Regions from separate parts of the Homo sapiens genome. Here regions 1, 3 and 4 are each linked to region 2. The links are contacts of gene promoters, found by promoter capture Hi-C in blood cells and fetal thymus (Javierre and others, 2016). All regions are on one chromosome and are shown on one strand. Each heading gives the region's core, a stretch centred on a gene start or on the middle of the fragment in contact. The rest is flanking DNA. Distances are from core to core; before and after follow the strand shown.

What was found. The method cuts DNA at HindIII sites, captures the fragments that hold promoters and counts their contacts. A CHiCAGO score of 5 or more calls a contact.
Region 1: a fragment that was not itself captured here is called in contact with the fragment with the promoter of KLHL32 in region 2 in 1 of 17 cell types (activated CD4 T cells); the score reaches 6.3 in activated CD4 T cells.
Region 3: a contact is called between a fragment that was not itself captured here and the fragment with the promoter of KLHL32 in region 2, in 1 of 17 cell types (total B cells). The highest score is 6.9, in total B cells.
Region 4: a fragment that was not itself captured here is called in contact with the fragment with the promoter of KLHL32 in region 2 in 3 of 17 cell types (non-activated CD4 T cells, activated CD4 T cells and naive B cells); the score reaches 7.9 in non-activated CD4 T cells.

The regions. Positions count from the first base shown.
Region 1 is chr6:99,565,443-99,568,388 of GRCh38, reverse strand. The region is part of intron 1 of CCNC (cyclin C); the gene reads left to right. It also overlaps the pseudogene TSTD3. Among named protein-coding and RNA genes, the nearest start is that of CCNC, 1.7 kb to the left of the region's middle. RefSeq lists an enhancer at 1-31. The HindIII fragment of the contact is 1,081 bases long and covers 933-2,013 here.
Region 2 is chr6:96,923,358-96,926,057 of GRCh38, reverse strand. It overlaps KLHL32 (kelch like family member 32), which reads right to left and starts at 1,330. Exons shown (of 11, transcript NM_052904.4): 1 at 1,032-1,330. RefSeq lists a silencer at 1,294-1,603. The HindIII fragment of the contact is 7,655 bases long and covers 1-2,700 here.
Region 3 is chr6:99,485,734-99,488,667 of GRCh38, reverse strand. USP45 (ubiquitin specific peptidase 45) reads left to right here. Exons shown (of 18, transcript NM_001346022.3): 7 at 373-468. Among named protein-coding and RNA genes, the nearest start is that of USP45, 28 kb to the left of the region's middle. The HindIII fragment of the contact is 2,678 bases long and covers 8-2,685 here.
Region 4 is chr6:99,514,347-99,517,046 of GRCh38, reverse strand. USP45 (ubiquitin specific peptidase 45) reads left to right here and starts at 1,624. Exons shown (of 18, transcript NM_001346022.3): 1 at 1,624-1,655. RefSeq lists silencers at 837-1,056, 1,367-1,736, 1,787-1,886 and enhancers at 803-1,708, 1,709-2,616. The HindIII fragment of the contact is 2,113 bases long and covers 310-2,422 here.

The sequences.
Region 1 (2,946 bases), core at 224-2,723, 2.6 Mb before region 2:
GGTCCTCACGGGAGACCGCAGCGGTCAGAATCAAGATGCGCTTTTCTGAGGCGACTCCCCTCCCCGCCCCCAGCCCCAGTTTCGGGGAGGGAAGGATCTGTGAGGGGGAGGGGTGGGAGAGAGTTTCGTCTCCCGGGAAGGAACGTTTCGGAGTTTAATTTCGGATTCTTGGTTTAGCTAGGCCGCGGGGGGTCGGATAGAGTGGGCACAGGTACGGGAAGTGTGACTCAGCTCAAGACTGTGAGGCTACCTGTTCAGGACAGTTGTGGCGTGCTTTTACCTGGGGTTTCTTCGGGTGATCGGCGTCGTGGTCTTTTGTCATTCACTGTATATCTTGAGTGGATTTAATATTATGAGGAGAGGAGAGAGTCTGGCTTGTTTCTGCCTACTAACCGCTTCTTGCGCGTACTTTATGTCTAGATGGAGTTTTATATTGATAAGGTATAGGGCAGGTGCCCTCTAAATTTATCCATTTCATTAGCCTGTGCTTTATATTTTGTTTTAAAGGCCTATTTTTCCAGTGACTTTGTTTACCTGTTTCTTTAACCTTTTTCATGAATAAGTTCTTGTTTCTGTCAGTGACCATGTGAGAGCTAGAATAATATTAAAAACATTTATCCCTAAATACATTTGTTTAAGCAGGCAGGAAGGTGCGTTATGGGGTAAATTGAACATTTGAGTAGGCTTTCCACTGTATAGTTGAAAGATGAACAGAATTTGACAAGGTATCTTGGTATAATTTTTTATGCTAAGAAAGCATTAGTAAGTAATTTAAATTTCGATTCTGTGAATAGGATCTGTTCCTGATGTTCATTTTTTAGCCCTTTGCAAAGAGAAAAAAAGAAACAATGAACTCAGTAACCTATTTAAGGAAAAGCAGGTTTTCCTCTTGCTATAAAGTGATTCTGTGGAGATGACATGTTAAAGAAGCTTTACCACTGATCATATGTGTGTGTGTGTATATATATGTGTGTGTGTGTATGTATATATATATGTGTGTGTATATATGTTGCATTGTTTTCACACACTGAAATATTGCTTGGGCAAAATTAAAGTATCGAAAGTTTAGGTATTGGAGTTAGAGCTCCTGAAAAAAAAAGTTTAGGTAGTGGAGAAGAGATATTCTGATAAACTCTGAAAGAAGCTGAGAGAATTGACAAGTAGCTGACTGTTGATTTTTCAGTTTTTCAACTTAAAAAAAAAAGATCCTGCCTTATTTTCAATAGTGTTCTCATTATGCTTTCATTTATTCATAGCATTCTAAAAATATGTTTTCACTTTTCAAATATAAAATTATTATAAAGTTAAGTGTACTTCTTTGAAACTATTCTTTTCTCCCAATTCAAATAGTCCTAAAAGAAGGGACCACTTTGCCTTGCTCAAATCCCTTGAGCAGTCATGGAGTTTCTTATCTGGAAAAGGTAACGAGTGTGGAAGACAAGACAATTCTGGAAAAACAAACGAAAAGATTATGAAAGGCCATTGTCTTAGGTGAATTTGGTGAAAGAGGGCAATTGATATTAAATATGCTATATTTCATGCTTCTAAGATGCACGTTTTCACACTTTAACATCTTTGAAATCAGCATGGCAGTTGCTTTCATAGCATATGAAATAATGATGAATCCTAGATGTAATCTTAAATTTGATGAAATGCAGTATTTATAAAGTTTTTTAGTTTATTCTCCATACAGAGTTCTGTGAGGAAAACTCATAAAATGTTTGTGAAATTTATCTTTTTAAAAACATAAAATGACTCTGTGGGGATGAAATTAATTAGCAAACCACAGTGTAGTTGAGGTAGAACAAAACACAGTCTGTGACCAAAATGAACTAGAAGGGCACTAAGTATTTGCTGGTTAATTGAATGCATTAATGAACAAGTAACAAAAATAAAAACTACAAAACTAACTGTGGATACTTTATTGGTATCCACAGGAAACTGAAAATACAGTTACTTACTATCTAGAAAATAACATCATAATAGTACCATATATGGAATGTAACCAAAGCTTGAATGTATTAGAAAATCAATATCCTGAATAATTGAGAGATAATAGAAATATTCTATTTAATAATATTAAGAAGGAAACATGAAATAAACCTAAAGAAACAGAAAGACTTAAAATAGATAACGATGCTAATATATTAAAAGGAAAAAAATTATAAAAGCTAATTCTTAGAGTAAATAAAAACAGTAGACCAAACTACTGCTAGTTAAATCAGGGGAAAAAGGAATGATACAAAAATACAAAATTAGGAATGAGAAAAGTAAACCCAGGGGTACTTTTGGGTTATCTCCAGGGTTTTAAATTTGAAAGCCAAAGCAAGTTAAGAGTATTACCCAAGAGCTATGTGTTATTTCATGGGTAAATACTTTCCATCTTTCAAGAGAATCTCCTTTTGAAATTGTTCCATTTCATACAGAAAGAAGAAAAGCTTTCTAATTCTCTTTATGAAGCCATGATAACACAGAAAAATCTAGCAAAGGGAACACTAAAAACAGTCTCACTTTTGAATATTAATGCAAACATTGTAAATGAATTATTACCAAATGCAGTCTAACATTACATTGAAAGTATAAAACATGACATTGGATTTTATTATAGAAATATAGTCAATATTAAGAAATCAAGCAGTAAAGGTATTAAAAAACTAATACAATTCAACATTTATCCTTGACTAAAGCTCTTACTAAAACAGAAATAGGATGCTTCCTTAACATGAAAAACATAAAGCATCAGCAGTGGTGAAACATTGAGATAATTAGGGTGCCTATTTAAGATTTTACCAATATGCTAGTCAATACAGTTGATACAAAGGAGATATAGAAAGAATGACAAAACAGGGACAAAATTATCAATACGTGGAAATAAAATTAATGAGAAAACTCAGTTAATTGAGAAGTTATTAGAAATAATAAAGGTTTAGGAAGGTGACCAGTTAT
Region 2 (2,700 bases), core at 81-2,580:
CTCAAAATAAAACAAAACTGACAGCCCAGGTATTAGGCTGACCTGTTCCATTGGCCTATCAGTGTTCCAGTAGAGGACCCAGTCCCATCAGAAAAAAAACAAAAAGCAAAAACCACTGCACTTTCATATAAGCTCTAGTAAGCCATGGCACACATTTTATATCTATCTCTATCTGTGTATAGAGATAGATCTAAAAATAATCAATAAGAGATTTTTTAAAAAACAGAATCTTCTCAGAAATGAGCAGAGGTGCAAAAAACTGCGCTTCAATACTGATGCAGGGGATATAAAAATGCTAGCAAAGATGTATGTCATGAATGCTACCTTCTTACGTTACGAATTCACAAACGTATTCCTGTTCTGGTCAATTTACAATAGAAGCTCATTCTTGTGTGGGGAAACACAATTAAATCATCTGCTTTTAATTTAAAATAATCACGACTAAGTGAACTGCAAAATAAAACTGGAAATAGAGGGGAAGAAGGGATCTAAACTGCAGTCATCTTTCTTTATAAGATCACCAAAATGGGAGTAAATTATGATTCAAGACACAATCCGTTGAAAAATTCATCTGACGAATCCTTTTTAAAGCATACCATATAGTGCAATTACGGCTTTTCTTGAAGTTGAATGAAACCGCCACCTGAATACAGATTAACAAATGCCAAATTACGAAAGGTCCTCAGTGTATATTTTATTTTAAATATCAAAATAAATAACGGCATCATTTAAGAAACCAGTTCTTTCAATAGATGTCCCACGGCTGATGTTTAAGCAAGTCTCCTTGGCAACCAAGGAGCACAGTACATATTGGGCTCAGGGGGAGGGAAGAAAGGGGGAGCGACTCCAGGGCTGGCAGCATAAGTAACCTGAGTAGTGGCTGCTCCCGTTAGACGACACGGGCAGAGGCTGCATGGGCTGCAAGCCCCTGAAATGTCAACTCCGGGTCTGCCCCCACTTGGCGCACCAGCAGCCTCCCACCCTCTTCCTCAGGTCTGCAGAACAGGTTACAAGGAGAGAGACTGGCTTACCCGATGGGGTGAGCGGTCTGCTGGGTTAGGTGCCAGAGACGGCAGCGCAGGCACCGGCCTCTCCTTGATGCACAATGGCTCTGCTTCGCCCCACGATGCTGAGGTTAACAGAACCCGCAGTAGCTTCGCTCTGCTGGTTCGGGGATGCAGTAGCGAAGACGAGCGTCCTAGCGTGTTTGTGTGTGCGAAAGTGTGTGTGTGTGTGTGTGTGTGTGTGTGTGTGTGCCTGCGTGCGTGTGTGCGCGCGACTGCCTGCGCGCTCCCGAACTGTCGCGCGGGGAAACTGCTCCCTAGTAAATAAAAAGCCCTAGCCAGCACTGCAGGTGGCACGTCCCGCTGACTCCGCCCCAGGCGGTCGCGTCAGACTGGAGACGCACCTTGGCACCCCCGGGGCGGGTTCAGACGCCACAGGGCTCCGCCCCCTCCCGCCTCCAGCTAGCCCGCGCGCTCCCTCCCCCTCCCCCGCGATCCCGCGCACATCCTTTCGCCACCCCGCGCGCAACGCCACCGCCCGCCGCCAGCGCGCTCGCTCCCCTGCCGCCCCCCGCCCCCGCCCCCGCCGTCGGCGAGCTGCCAGCGCGCGCCCGCCGGTCCCGGAAGTACCCTCCTCCACGCCGCCCTCCTCCTCGCTCTCCGGCACCTGCGTCGCCGGCCCCTGGGTCACATGCGCAGTCTGTAGCCACCACTGCGGCGACTGAGACCCGGGAACCCAGCCTGCTCGCCCCCAGACTCCTTTCCCAGGGCTGGCGGGCAATCTGAGCAAACAGACCCCGTGGCCCTAACTCGGTGTTCCAGGGAGTCCTTGCTCTGCTAACTTGTGAAGTTCAAGTTGCCTCTAGTCCTAGCGGCCCTACAGTGGCCCTCCTTAGGATAATACACTCTATGGTACTGACCAGAACAAATTCACAGTAACTTTAAGAAACGTCAGGGGAACCAACCCGCCAGAGGTGGACGAAATCCCCAAGCCTGAGAAATGAGAAAGGGTGTGATTACTGTGGTTACTACTAATTCAGCAATAAAACCGCAAACAGACAACAACCACAGAACCATACCATTAAATTCCAGGGCCTGGCACACTCAAGTGCCACTTCCGAGTCATTCAGGTCACTCCTGTGTAAAACATGCTGAGAAACTCACACTAAAGCAAAGTGGGTAATTTTAATAGGTAAGTATTCCACCACCGAATTGAAAACCTTAGTCCAACGTGGAGGTAAGACACCAGAAGCAGGAAGAGTGTAACTAAATTGGAGTAAACTGTATTTTGTAGAAGTTCAGGATTTAACTTACTGCAAAGATAGTATGTTAATCCTATTTCTTGCAGGTTTATGTTCTGCCACAGAGTTGGGCTAGGAACAGTGCCCTGATCTATTTTGAGGTGTCCTTAATGTTCTCATTGGTCTCAAATCAGTGGTTCAGCGATTATTTTCTACTTCTAGATCCACAGGATTTGGGGGTTTATTCGTTTGCTCCCTCTGGAGGTTATCTGTCTGGCTTGTAGTGCTTCATTTTCATGGTTTTGATATCTGGACGCTAGGATGCTGGGTACCTACTTATCTAGCAGTCCTGGACACAGCATAGGACAAGGGAAAGAATGACAAACAACTGACTACAAACATTAGGTGCAGTGTCATCCTAAGAATTTTTCATAAGCAACTTGATAGTTTTCATT
Region 3 (2,934 bases), core at 97-2,596, 2.6 Mb before region 2:
GAAAGCTTTGTAATATGTAAAAGATTCTCTTAATTTATGTAGTCATTGGCTCACCTGTAGACTGTCAAATGACTGCTAAATGTTCCTCTAGAAATTTCTCTGTTTTCCTTTTGTTTACGCTATCTTGGGCCATCACCATATGTATACATGTACCTTATTTTCACACAGGGCTTCTGAAAGGTCTTCTGTGTATTTTACCATGGCTCTATCGGTAATAGTGACCTTTACTAAATGTAAAATGTACTCAACTAAATCTTAATATTTTTTGAAATAGACACTTTTGCTATGCTAGATGAAATTTGAGAGTGTATTCCATAAAATCAGAGGCATATTTTAACTGAATCTGAAGACTTTAATTTTGTTTTCTTTTAGAACTTGGCACAGACTTATACTCTTACTGATCTGATGAATGAGATCAAAGAAAGTAGTACAAAACTCAAGATTTTTCCTTCCTCAGACTCTCAGCTGGTGAGTAATAACTGTTTGAATAATAGCTGCTTTCAGATGAGCCACTGATGTTACCAAAATCTCTTTTCCTAATTCGCAGATCAGTCAACTAAGATAGTAGCCAGGGGGCTTAAAAATAATTTAAAAGCATTCTGTGAAAATAATCAGATTTAAAATTTCTAAAATCATAACTTTAAGGTATGTTATGGTTCCAATATGCCATGGATCAAATAATAAAAAGATATCAAGGCAGCTTTAAAATAAACATACTGGAAGAAACAAAAGAGGTGTGACTTCTATTGAGCAAAATGCCTATAACCCCTATTTTGTAGTTTCTGGTGACATTTGTTTAAATTTAGCATTTTTGTTCTTTAAAGAAAGATGAAATTTTAATAGTGAGCATCTAAAGGTTTTTTTTTTGAGACGGGGTCTCGCTCTGTCGCTGGAGTGCAGGCTGGAGTGCAGTGGCGCGATCTCAGCTCACTGCAAGCTCCGCCTCCCGGGTTTATGCCATTCTCCTACCTCAGCCTCCTGAGTAGCTGGGACTATAGGCGCCCGGCTAACTTTTTTTTTTTTTTTTTTTTTTTGTATTTTTAGTAGAGACGGGGTTTCACCATGTTAGCCAGGATGGTCTTGATCTCCTGACCTCGTGATCCACCCGCCTCGGCCTCCCAAAGTGCTGGGATTACAGGCGTGAGCCACCACGCCCGGCCACATCTAAAGGTTTTTTGAAGCCTAGCCTGATGATAGATTTTTAAGCTAGTGAGAAAGATGAAAAAAAGAGCAGCCCCTGATATTCAGAAGCTGGCCTGGCACCAACAGTTAGGCCATGTTATTCAGATAATCCCACAGAATAACAATCTGATAGTAGGTTTCTCTGAGACTACGATGAAATAAGACAAAGCAAGTCCACTTCATGATTTTGTCTAAAACAAGATCACTTTGCCATTTAGAAAATCTGAAACACCCTCCTTCAGCCAAAATGAGAAATGAAGGAATGCTACTTTACTAGTTAGAGATTTATCCTCATTTTAGTCTCCCCCACCAACTGCCACAATATGTAAGATTTATTGAGATGTCCCATGATAGAATTAGCCTCGCTTTCTGAGGGCATTCACTCTAGAGTAAACCTCTGCTTCCTGAAACCCACCTTCAGGTTATTCAACCAGAGCCTAAATCCTGGGTAGGTTCTTTACAGCACTCTCTTACTAGGACACCCTGTGGTTCCCCATGCTGCGTGATCTCCCTCACTGCCACAAGTAATAAACCCACCTAGTTCAACGATAGGTGTGTTTCTGATGGACTTTGGCTGGGAGGTGTTGATACTAGTAAGGATAATTTTAGTGAGAAATTGATCAGCCTGTGTGTGTGTGTTTGTGTGTGTGTGTAAGTGTGTAAGTCAGAGTATATGTATAGCTCATGATCTGACTTTTGAAAACAATTAAAGAGTTCTAAAAATGCTTAGCCCTCTAAACATGCTTAGTAATCTTAGATTGTTTTTCCCAGTAGGCACTTTTGAAAGACAGTATTGTTTTATATATATATCTTTGAAAGACAGTATTATTATATATATAACATACTGTTATATATATATAATAACCTCCTTTTTATATATATATTTACATGTAAATGTTTACCATATATATATGTATATATAGTCGAAAAGCAGCCTGTAAACATTTGTTCAGCCCCTTAAAAATTTAATGATAGATTCCAATGCCCTATTCTAAATAAAGTGTAGTGAGATCCTTAAAACTACTAAAGGGAAGTTATTGCCTAGTCATTTAAAAAGACCTGTTAAATGTGATTTCCTGTTAAATGCGATTGGATGTTGAGTTTAAATATTTGACATGCAGAGCTGTGTTTCAGGATTACTATATGGCAATTAGATACTGTAGTTAATAACTTTAGGTTTGTATCATTCTAACAGGGTAATTTTGAATCTTATATCTTAGGTTTTTAGGGCATAAAGTTGACCTGAGCTGTGGCACTGTTCTTTGAGTTGGTTACTGCCCTTTGAATCACCAGTTTATCTTTGTCTTTTGTCTATATACCGTTTATTTTTTTATTTTTATTTTTTTACCTTATTGTGCTGGCTCAGAGCTCCAGTAACATGTTGAATAGAGATGATGGGAGCAGTCAGCCTTGCCTTAATCCCAAAATTAGGGGAACAAACATTCAGCCTTCTCCCATTATTACATACGAAGGTACGATTTTCAGAGGTGTTCTTTGTAAGCTTGAGGACATTCCTTTCTATTGCTAGTTTTCTGAAAGTTTTATCGGAATGGATGTTGAATTTTGTCAAATGCTTTTCCCACATCTATTGAGATGATCATATGGTTTTTCTTCTTTATTCTGTTAATGTGGTGAATTACACTGATTCCTTTTTCAAGTGTTAAACCTATCCTGTATTCTTGTTACAAACCCCAGTTATGATATGCTTATATGCTGCTGGATTCAATTTAATATTTATGCGCATATCAACAG
Region 4 (2,700 bases), core at 117-2,616, 2.6 Mb before region 2:
GTTATGCTAAGGGTCTATCTAGTGGAAATCAAGATAGCTTTGAATTTTGTCGTTTCCAAGAAAATTTAAGTATTGTATGGTATTTGATAATTTCTAATTTTTTTCTTATGAAGAAAAGAACCTAAATTTCCATAATCTAATTCAATCCCTTTTAAAAAATCAATCATAAACTGGGTTTCCACATATATTTTTTAAAATCTCTTTTACAGTGACACAATTAAGATGCAAATTATTTAGATTTGCTCAAGTTTGCTTGTTCTTGTTCTTCCAAGTTCTAGGTCAAATCCAAAGTTAAAATACATGAAAGCTTTTGATTTATGAAGTAGACAATTTTGCCTTCAAAATTACACCACATGACCTCTTCTTATTTGAGGAATATTTTCTTTTTCCCTAGGGAAAAAAATTATCCTAACCCCAAAATGATAGTGTACCTCTATACCTGTAACAGCAACTGGCATATCTGTGCTCAATTATGTTTGTTAAATGAATGGTCCTTGTTAAGTACGATATAAGCAAATATCAACCTTCTTTGCCAAGTTCTCCACATGTAAATACTGTTAGAAGAGTTTTTAAAGAAAAATTTAGTGTTTGCAATTTTAACTCTCGTATCTTCTGATTTCTACGCCAATGCTCTTATCCTTAAAGCCACATTTGTCCCTTGGCTGAAGAGTTGTGAAAGATCAGGAGACTTTTAGAACCTATCCATAACCAGTGTTGGCATTTGCAATATCCATGATTGAAACAAAATATTTTCAAACCAACTACTTTTACTAAACATGCAATGTGCTGGCCACTTCAACAGATAACCGGGCTTTGAGGAGGTATAGGTGTATTTCAAGAAATGTACTATCTAGCTAGGAAGAGAGAAGGATAGGTAAGACAACAGCAATGGGGGAAAAACCACAATAATATATGACGAATGTTAGATGTGACTTTAAGAGTTCAGGGGGCGGCGGGGGTGTGGGGGCGGAGCCGGGCGCGGTGGCTCAAGCCTGTGATCCCAGCACTTTGGGAGGCCGGGGCGGGCGGATCACAAGGTCAGGAGATCGAGACCATCCTGGCTAACACGGTGAAACCCCGTCTCTACTAAACAAAATACAAAAAATTAGCCGGGCGTGATGGCGGGCGCCTGTAGTCCCAGCTACTCGGGAGGCTAAGGCAGTAGAATGGCGTGAACCCGGTAGGCGGAGGTTGCAGTGAGCCGAGATCTTGCCATTGCACTGCAGCCTGGGCGACAGAGCGAGACTCCGTCTCAAAAAAAAAAAAAAAAAAAAAAGAGTTCAGAGGAGGGTAACGGAGGGAAATCGGAGGCTGTTTCAGAAGGTGCCCAGCAACAAGTGGGACTTAAGCCGGACTCCTGCAACATCCGAGGTGCGCACGCTGGCCCAGGATCCTAACAAATTGCTAGTCGGTGGCTATGAGTCTTAGATTATCAGGGACTCTCCGGGCTCTGCGGACACGCAGAACGCAGGCGCCACGCAAGCCGGCCCCGCCCTTTCACCCCTCCCCGCGCTCCCGGGCCCCGGGCGCGCCGCCTGGAACCCTCCCGGTCCTGGCTGGGGGCGGGCGAACGAGGCCCCACCTCTGCCGGGAGCGGGACGAGCGCGCAGGCGCAGTCTCCCCAGGTTGTAGACGCTGCGGCCCGGCCCGGCGGGGTGAGTTGAGAACGCGGCGCTTTGGTCGCAGCGGCGGTATGGTCGCCGCAGTTTCTCGGTCTTCGCTTCGGCGACCTTGACCCCCTTGTGGGTGGGCGAGGCTGGAAGAGAGGCTCCCCACCCCACTCGGCTTCCTGATCCCTGGGGGCGCCGGGCGGTCACCGAGGGCCGTGTGAGCGCCGCTCTGCCGGCTCCGGGTCCATGCGGCTGCGGGAGAAGCCCTGGGCGTCGGGGCTGGCCTGGGAGGGGCCCGAGTCCCCTGGTGACCTGGGCGCGCGGCGGCCCCACACCTTTCCGTCCGCCTCATCGCGGCGCATTTCTCTTCACATCCTCGGGGTGTGTGTGTGTTGGTGACCGGAGGAAGCCTGTCTAATGACTTTTCTGGAAGCGTCGTGTATTAGGAGCTCCGGGGCCGGACTGCTTGGGTCCGCATCTCCATCCACCGCTTACTGGCTTTGGGACCTCTGCAAGTCACTTCACTTCTCTTTCTCAGTTTCAAGTGTAAAATGCGGAAAATAATAGCAACTTATCTCCTAAGGTGGTTGTGAGGGTTGCGTGGGTTAATATTTGTGAAGTGCTTAGAACTGAGCGTGATACACAGCAAAACCATAAGTGCTGCTCATCTTTTTGAGCTTGGTATATAAAAGGAGATAGTGACCTTTTCTTCTCTTTCCAACCCCCATAAATAATTGCCCAAGAGTAGGAAAAAAGGATTTTTTTTTCTTAAGGATATGGGCTTTTTGCATAGCCTGTTTAAAAACAAAGCTTTCTAAACAACTTAGTTGCACATCCTACTTTAGAGAAAAGACAAGTGTTAAGTGATGGTGACTTGAAAACTGTAAAGTTTATTGTTTGGAAAACCGCATGAGAAAAATGGCCAGAACATATTTGTGCTAAAAAGAGTTAACATAGCAGGCCTTAAGACTGCTATCCTTAGAAAGGACTGCTTGCAATGTTGGTGCTTGTTTGGCATCTGGGAACTTAGATTTTTGGGTTTGTGCTGAACAGTATGTTTTATGCCGAAATTACCAGCTTCTGTAAAAAT